Linked DNA regions of Homo sapiens: region 2 is linked to region 1. The links are contacts of gene promoters, found by promoter capture Hi-C in human tissues and cell types (Jung and others, 2019). All regions are on one chromosome and are shown on one strand. The core of a region is centred on a gene start or on the middle of the fragment in contact, and the rest is flanking DNA. Distances in the headings are between cores, read along the strand shown. Region 1 holds the start of GTSF1L (gametocyte specific factor 1 like). Region 2 has its middle 170 kb from the start of CHD6.

Region 1 (4,696 bases), core at 628-3,127:
GTTATTGCAGCCTAACCTTGCCTATCCTGACTGGCACACCCAGAATAAATGGTGTAGTTATGAAAGATGCCTTTTTTTAGAATCCTTTGTCTAATCTTTTGTCTATACCTGGGTTCCCATTACAATTTCTTACTATGACATCAGTGAGTGTCATGTTGCTAAATTGTCTGCATGTCATATGATAGTAACAAGACATCCCACATGTATGATCAGTTGCAATTATGTAACAATGTAGACAAAGCCAATCACTTCAATTCTCAAAAAAGGCTGAACACCATAGCTAGGATGTGGAGAGATGGAAAAAGTGTCATTTACAATGACAAAAAAAAAAGAAAAAGAAAAAACCATAAAGCATCATAGATTAATTTTTTTTTAACGTGCAAAAAATAGAAAGAAAACTACAAAGCCTACCTGAAAAGACACCATCAATAGAGCTTAGTAAATACCAGGAAACACACACACACACATACACACACACACACTCACACACACACCTTCCCCAAGGTCACATGGCTGGTAAGTGGCAGGAGGTAGAATTTGAATACAGTCAGCTTCCTTAACCACCACCAAGAATAGGATGGGTGAGCTTTTTCTATAATGGGCCAGACAGAAAACATTAGAGGTTTCTAGGTCATCTGGATTCTGTTGCAACTACTCAAATCTAGCTCAAAAGCAGCCAATGGACAATATATAAACAAATGGGTGTGGCTGTGCTTCAATAAAACTTTATTTACAAAAGCAGATAGCCATCTGGATTTGAATCATGGGCCCATAGTTTGTTGACACATGATCTAGAATAACAAATCCTTGAAGATAGTCAAGGCTTTTGGGGGGAAAACTAATAACAAGCAGAGACTTGCTCTATCAGATATCAGCACATAAAGCTACAAAAATTATTTGGAATTGCATTATATTTATGTATCAATTTAGGATGACTATGTAATTTATGTAATTTAGTTTACAGAGAATATTCATTTATGATTTTGAGTCTTCCTATTCAGGAATATGGTATTTCTCTACTGTCACTCAGATCTTGAGAAACAATTTAACAGGGTGGGGGGTGGGAAGGAGCTCCAGGCCAATTTTTAGAAGAAATCCTACCTAACACCAGACATGTAAATAGAATGTCAGAGGACCAAAACCACTAACACCCTGAGATATGTGTCAATTGCGTCCATTCAGACTTTGGTCCAGTTCTGTGAGGGACAACGGCAGGGTCGACCTAAGATGGGGCGTTTTATAGGAAATGTTTCCCATGTTAAGCTGAACACCAAAAGGCTTCACCTTCTGCGATATATGAATAGATTTAAACCCTTCCCCCACACCCAAGGAGACTAGGCTGCTGTGGGCCTCAGCAGAGCAGAAGGGTAAAGAAAGACGGCCCTGAGAATCACATCCAAAAACCAGCCCTGGCAAAGCGCAGGGGCTCACACCTATCATCCCAGCACTTTGGGGGGCTGAGGCGGGTGGATCACCTGAGGTCAGGAGTTCAAGACCAGCCTGGCCAACATGGTGAAACCCGTCTCTACTAAAAATACAAAAAATTAGCCGGGCATGATGGCAGGTGCCTGTAATCCCAGCTACTCGGGAGCCTGAGGCAGGAGAATCACTTGAACCTGGGAGGCGGAGATTGCAGTGGGCCAAGATCGCACCACTGTACTCCAGCCTGGCAACAGAGCGAGACTCTGTCTCAAATAAAACAAAAACAAAAACAAAAAACAAATACGTACAGTTAAAAGACTTAAGTCACAACATACATCCATGAGCAATTTTAGATGGCAGCATTCCCAAAGCCATCCACCCCTCCCAAGCAGTGCACAATAGCCTCTTCCTGATGACTTAGGCTGCCCATTGTGACCACCGGTGACTGCAGCTTGACATCATAGTATATCCGTGAGTCAAGCGGCTGTGGGTTTTTGGCTCTTGCATCTGCTATAGTTCTGTCTCGGGTGCCATTTGCTAACTCTGTTCTCTGTGTAGCTGCTTTTGGCAGCTCCTCATCTCTCTTCTAATCCACCACTCACAGTCCTAGAGAACAGACCACAAGTTAAGACCGTCACCTACAGAATCCCAAGGGCCAAAACTGGGCAGAGGACAACTCCATCCTTCTTACAAAAGGGCTTCTCCACAAGAAGCATTTCCGTTAGACTCTAGCAGTGAGATACCCTGCTTCAAGAATTTCTCATGGAGCCAGAAGCCTTTGAAATTTGCCCTTATGATCCTCACCACCGAATCCCACTCAGCAGATTCCAGTACCACCTGGCATCGTGCAGGAGAAAGAACCCCAAGAAAGCCAAAAAGATGGCCACCTGCAAATACAACGCCTGCCACGTGGTCCCCATCAAAAATCTGGAGGAACATGAGGCTGTTTGTGTCAACAGGAGCGCTGTGGAAGAAGAGGACACCGAGAACCCTCTGAAAGTCAGTCCTCCTAGTTCAGAGCAGAACGATGACACCCAGCAGGTCTCACCCTGCCTTCCCAGCCCCGATATCTGGAATGTCGATGGCGCTAATTGCCAGCATGTGTTTGTCCTTAAGACTTTTTTTCCTCAAAAGGTTGTTTGTGAAAATGACACGAAAGAGTCAGCAAGAGAGACCAGTCCCCAGAAGATCCTCAGACCAGGACAGTAAACTGCCAGCTGAGGAAGGAGCACACGCCTCATCAATGCATGGAAGAACGTGCAATGCATCAGAATAAAAGACATGCAAAGTAAACTACCCTGGGCTACCTCTTTTTTTAACCTGGCAGATTGATAAATATCAAAAGGCTTAAAATACTCTGCTGGCAAAGGTAGGGCAAAATGGGCACTTTCATAACATTGGTGAGAATGTCAGTTGGTACAACCTCCACAGAGGGCAATTTGACAATAGCTATAAACATTATCAATGCATACAGGCTTTGATTGAGCAATTCCACTTCCAGGCTTCATTCTGTAAATATAATCACACATGTGGAAAATGAGCTAAGTACTAGCTTATTCACTGCAGCATTATTTGCAGCAGCAAAAGAGTTAGAAATGAGCCAGGTGTGTTGAATCACAGCTGTAGCCTGTTACTCTGGGAGCTGAGGCGAGAGGATCGCTTGAGTTCAGCCTGGGCAACATAGTGAGATCCTGTCTTAAGCAACAAAAAAAAAAGTCAAAAATGACCTAAATATCCATTAAAAGGGCCTGATTAAAAATAAGTTATACTGCAGCCATACAACAAAATATTATGCCGCCTTAAAAAAAGTGAGGAAGCTCTTTCTGTGCTGATATAGAAAGGTTGAGACACACTGTTGAGCTCAGAGGTCAGCAAACTGTTTCTGTAAAAGGCCAGATGGCAAATATCTTAGCCTTTGTCAGCCACACAGTCTGTGTTGCAACTACTCGGCCCTGCCACTGCAACACGAGAGCAGCCACATATAATATGTAAACAAATGAACAGAGGTTCCAATAAAATGCCTTACAGCCACAGGTGGCAGGCTGGACTTGACTGGTGGGCCATGGTTTGCCAACCCCCAGTTTAACTGATAAAAACCAAGTCCAGGCCGGGCCCGGTGGCTCATGCCTGTAATCCCAGCACTTTGGGAGCCGGAGGCGGGCCAATCACCTGAGGTGTGGAGTTCGAGGCCAGCCTGGCCAACATGGCAAAACCCCATCTCTACTAAAAATACAAAATTTAGCCGGGCGTGTGGTGGGCACCTGTAATCCCAGCTACTCAAGAGGCTGAGGCAGGAGAATAGCTTGAACCCGGGAGCAGAGGCTGCAGTTAGCCGAGATCACGCCATTGCAATCCAGCCTGGGTGACAGAGCGAGACTTTGTCTCAAAAAAAAAAAAGGAAAAAGAAAAGAAAAAACAAAAACAAGTCCAGAGCAGTCTATACAGTATGCCACCATTTGGGGAGAGTTGCGGGAGAAGACATGAATATGTATGTGCTTGTTTTTGCATAAAATTTCTCTTTAAGGATACTCTAGAATGGAGATCTGTCCACAAAGCCTGAAATTTTTCAACCTGTTGCCTAATAGAAAAATTTGCTTGCCTCTTCACTAGAAACTGATATTGTCTGCCTCCAGGGAAGACAAGAGAGAGCCCTTCTTTACTATTGACTCTTTAGAATCTTTTACATGGGAATATATATGAATATGTTATCTGGTCAAAAATTAAACTATATTTTTTTAAACAGCAGGTAGAAGACTTAAGTCCTTTGAAAGTTTTTCAGGAGGAAATCTTAACTGTTAAGTTTTTTTTTTGTTTTTTTGTTGAGACAGAGTCCTCGCTCTGTCGCCCAGGCTGGTGTGCAGTGGCGCAATCATAGCTCACTGTAGCCTCAACCTCTAAGGCTCAAGCAATCCTCTCGTCAAAGCCTAACAACTAGCTGGGACCACAGGCGTGCACCACCATAACTGGCTAGTTCTATTTTTTTGTAGAGATGGGGTCTCACTATGTTGCCTAGGCTCACTGCTTTTTTTTTTTTTTTTTAAGTAATCATAACTTTGCCACCCAGCTGGCCCCTTCAACTGCTTACACGAAGTATTATAAACAAAGACTTCTTGGGGGGATAAAAAGTTCTGGATGGCAGTGATTAATGAAGTGCATGAACTAGAGAACTGACATACAGGAAATAGGGGGAAAAAGTGATGTGGAGAATATATGTCTATAAACCATAGGCCAACAGGACCAGGAAAACTTACTCTTCCTGAAACTCCCTGAATTG
Region 2 (4,696 bases), core at 623-3,122, 1.9 Mb after region 1:
TATCACTCAAAGACTTTGTATTTTCCGGAGAAAGGGTTAGCATGTTTTCAGTTGCACACAGGACGGTTGTATCATGTTAGGCAGAAGCATAATCTTGTTATTGTCTCTATTTGGAGATTAAAATGACTTACAGAAATGTGAATGGGCACGAAGTTGACAAGGGTAGACTCATGATGGTTAATTTTATATGTTAACCTGGTTAGTCCACAGTACGCAGACGTTTGGTCAAACATCAGTCTGGATGTTACTGTGAAGGTATTTTTCAGATGAGATTTACATTTAAATCAGTAGACCTTGAGTAAAGCAGGTTACCTTCTGTAATGTAAGTGGGCCTCATCCAATCAGTTGAAGGCCTTAAGAAAAAACAGATTGTGGTACCCTGGGGAAGAAGAAATTCTGCCTCCAGACTGTCTTCAAACTCAAGCTGCCATATCAACTATTCCCTGGGTGCCAGGGTAGCCTGGAACCTGCCAGCCTACTCTATAGGTTTTGGGCTTGCCAGCTTCCACAATCATGTGAGTCAATTCCTTAAAATAAATTAGTTTTTAAAATACATCCACACAAACATATTATATTGATTCTGTTTCTCTGGAGAATCCTAATACACTGAGAGATGGCCATTAATCCTTGGCTGGATGCCCCAGGTTGGAAACACCACCTAAGATGCTCTTGCCTTTATTGAAAAATGCTTTGGTTAGAAAGTTCTTTTTCATGGCCAAAAAGGATCTGCTCCTTTAACCTCCACCCTCTACCAATCTCAGCCCTGCATCCTCCAGGTGATCACAAAAGCCCTACAAATCTCACCTTCACTGAAGCCTTCAAGAAACTGCCCCGTGGCTGCCCCAGTCCCATGGAAGAGAAGTCACTGGGAAAAAGTTGCCAAGCCTGTACCTAAATAATCTCCCTTTGGGGAAAGTTCCTTGAAAGGAAGGTAAGGTTGGGGAGAAGGAAGGAGGGAGGGAAGAAAAGAGAGATAGGAGAAAAAGAGGAAAGAAGGAAGAAAGGAAGATGGAAATGCTTCCAAATACCTGCTGTGTATTTTTCATGTAATCCACCAAACACTTTGAGTAGAGATTATTCCCCACCACAGCGAAGATTAGAAAGCAAAAGATCCACAAGGGAAGGTAAATTGGCAGTGGCCATCTTTGTGATACCTCCCTTCTCAAGAGGTCCTTCCCTCAGGCCAGGCGCGGTGGCTCAGGCCTGTAATCCCAGCACTTTGGGAGGCCAAGGCAGGTGGATCACGAGGTCAGGAGTTCAAGACCAGCCTGGCCAACATGGTGAAACCCCGTCTCTACTAAAAATACAAAAATTAGCGGGGCATGGTGGTACATGTCTATAATCCCAGCTACTCGGGAGGCTGAGGCAGGAGAATCACTTGAACCCAGGAGGCGGAGGTTGCAGTGAGCCAAGATCATGCCACTGCACTCTAGCCTGGGTGACAGTGCAAGACTCTGTCTCAAAAAAAAAAAAAAAAAAAAAAAATCCTCCCTCAAGGAAGTCACCAACAGAAGCTTCCAGTTAGCAGCCTAGAAGCTTAACTACTTAATCAGTGGGCTCAGGAAAGACCTGGGAATGGTTCTCATTGGTCTAGCTTAGGTCATATGCTCATTCCTGAACCAATCACTATGGCTAGAAGAATGAAATGTTTTGATTGGCTAGCCCAAGATCATGTGCCCTTGCCTGGTCCAGAGGGTGAGAGCCGCCTCAGTTAAATGGAAAGAGGCAGAGGGATGAGGCCCGCCCCCATTACAATGAAGGAGGTAATGAGTGCTGGAAAAGCAGAAAAAATAAACAATAACGGAATCATGGTCTGAATAAAAGGGATTTCAGCAACACAGTGAATGTCTCCATCCAGTTAAGCTCTATTTAAAAAGTTATATATATATATATATATATATATATATATATATATATACACACATATATATAAATACTCTATATTGAATTATTAAAGTATAATAGTAATTGTTAAGAATGACCCAGAAAGGGAAGGTCTTGGACAATGGTAAGTTTCAACCAGCACAAATTAGTTGTTAGCACCCACAGCTCTGATCTGAAGTGCCTAGCTAGCTCTGTTCTCTTCCCAAAGGGCATATATCCTCCTCCCCTATCCCAGAAGGAAGGTCTAGCCTTTGAGGCTCTTTCCTAGTTATCCTCCCCATGTATATAATCACCCTTTGCAAGTCATATTTTTGATTTCTCAGATGTTTCCAAGATGCTTTATTGGTTAAAGCTCATTGACATGACCTGTTCCTCCATGCTCAACACTGTCTCAGTTATGGCCTCCAGCACCCGCCTGGTTTTTCATGGAAGGTGTCAGTGTTGCACTTTTACAGCTCCAATGCACAGCCTGAAATACATTTTACAGAAACTTCAACCTCACCAAACACCAATTATTCATATCTCGTTACCATATATTTTTAAAGTAATGCACAACTTAGAACATTTAAAACCACGCAGTTCTTTGCATTATGAACACATCCTTACTAACTCACAACTATAAACAATTATACTTAATCTCAGTGTACCCTCTGGGGTTAAGTAGGAAACAACTTTATAATTCTAGATTTATTCTTAGGCTTAAAAAAAAAAACATTCTTGGCATATTTGAGCTCTGAGTTTAGTATTTCTGAACTTCAGGGCAGATTGACAACTAAAGCCCTTACAGAGACTTTTATTTAATCTTTCTTTTCACTAAAATCAGAAGCTTTGTGAATTCCTACCTAAGATGTAGACAAGAGAAGGCATTGGATACCTTCTGATTACTCTTTCTCAGCTTCCTTACCTCATATTTTCTTTGGACAAATTCAGAGAAGAGGAAACAAAGGAGAATAGACAGACTGTATTCATTCATTCATTCATTCATTCAACAGATTTTTTTTGAGTGGCCACTGTGTATGAGGCACTGCGACAGGTCCTGGGTATATGATAGTGAGCAGAAAAGATTCTATCCTTGTAAGGTTTATGGTCTAGTACAAGGATCAGCTGACTATAGCCTATAGGCCAAATCTGGCCTGCCACCAGTTTTTATATGACCCACAAGCTAAGAATGGGTTTTACACTGAAATTGTTGAAAAAAAATCAAAAGAATATTTTGTGACACGTGAAAAGTATGTAAAATTCAAATTTCAGTGTCCACAAATATAGTTTTATTAGAACACGGCCATGCCCATCAATTTACATATTGCCCATGGCTGCTTTCATACAGTAGCAGAGTTGACAGGTTGCAACACAGACCATATGGATCGCAAAGACCAAAATGTTTACTGCCTGGCCCTTTATAGAAAAGGTTTGCCACCCCTGGTCTAGCAGTAAATTGGAGAGGGGCTAGGAAGGAAATGGCTACCTCCTCATAGTGGAATAGAATCAGTATCCCAACCAACAGGTGGAGATGCAATCTACAGAATTTATTTTGCAGTAAGAGGTCTCAAGGTGCTCATCTTTCAGTCAAGGCTTTTGCTGGCTGCTGCTTCTCAGCTTTAACCTGTTTTAACAATAGAAAGTCACACCCTTCTTGTCCATTTGCTAATCAACTATTGACCTCCTCCTCCTCCACCAGCCAGCCAGATCCACTTTGTCCTTCCAGACCTAACTGAAGACCACTTATTTCTAGAGATATTTGATCAAGATCTTAGCAACTTGGAGTACTTTGAACAATTCCAGGGGACACCACTCAGTCCAGCCCACAGTGACCTCTTTCATCACCAAAAACCTATGACATTGGAAATGATGCCACTTAGCATTTAATTGCTAAGCGTTTCCTGCCTTATCTTCTTAAGAGAGTAAGTTCTGGCAACTGTGCCTTACCTATTAATATATCTTCCACAAAAGAGTGGACGCACAGTTTCCTGATTCATTAGTTATGTATATAAGAGTGATGTTGGGATAAGGACTCATCCTAGAGGTGGAAGAATTCAATCCATGCTCTAGTCTCACCATTTAATAACTGCAATATTCTCTCACCCTTTGTTTTCATAGCACTGAAATGGAAACAGTGGCTCCTATCTCACTGGCTTGTGTAAGAATTACTAAAAAACAATGGTTCTCAACCTGGAGGCTTTATCAAAACACAGATTGCTGGGCTCCATGCCCAGAGATTCTGATTCAGTTTTTCTAAGGTAAGGCCTAGGAATTTGCATTTGCTGACACTGCTTGGTCCAGAAGCCTCACTTTGAGAACCACTGCTTAATATAATGTAGCGAAGACACACAGAGGACACATTTTGATTCCCTTGGAAAGAAATGATCTTCATAATGATGACAGAGGTGATGATGACAGTGATGATGATGATAGTGGTAATGCTCACAATGTTCCTAGAGCCTAAATTTTATACCATATGCAAGTTTTTCTATCAAAGTAGTTTCAAATTCTTTCAGACATTGGGAAGATGGGATGCTTTCTGCATAACCACAAGAAAAAATTGATGCACTTAATTCTGTCACACGAGTCAGCAACAACTTTACTACCAGAAAATATGGCTATATTATATGCATGCAGGTTTCTGCATCTCAAAAAAGTAACAATACATAAAACACTCCTTTAAAAATCACATTTTAAAATTTCCCATTAATGTTTATTGTTCATTCATTTTTGGCTCAGTTTAAAGAAAATTTATGGAAGAAAAAGTTAGAATTGAGAAAGTTCTATCCCAAGACCTTGATGTTATTGATGAGTAGGGAAAAGGCCACCATGA

What was found. The method cuts DNA at HindIII sites, captures the fragments that hold promoters and counts their contacts. A contact is called where the count stands out against the background at its distance.
Region 2: a fragment that was not itself captured here is called in contact with the fragment with the promoter of GTSF1L in region 1 in 1 of the 25 tissues and cell types used here (dorsolateral prefrontal cortex).

The regions. Positions count from the first base shown.
Region 1 is chr20:43,724,183-43,728,878 of GRCh38, reverse strand. GTSF1L (gametocyte specific factor 1 like) reads left to right here and starts at 1,877. Exons shown (of 1, transcript NM_176791.4): 1 at 1,877-2,715. The coding sequence starts at 2,185. The coding sequence ends at 2,631. The HindIII fragment of the contact is 17,400 bases long and covers 1-4,696 here.
Region 2 is chr20:41,790,738-41,795,433 of GRCh38, reverse strand. No RefSeq gene overlaps it. Among named protein-coding and RNA genes, the nearest start is that of CHD6, 170 kb to the right of the region's middle. The HindIII fragment of the contact is 4,306 bases long and covers 1-4,025 here.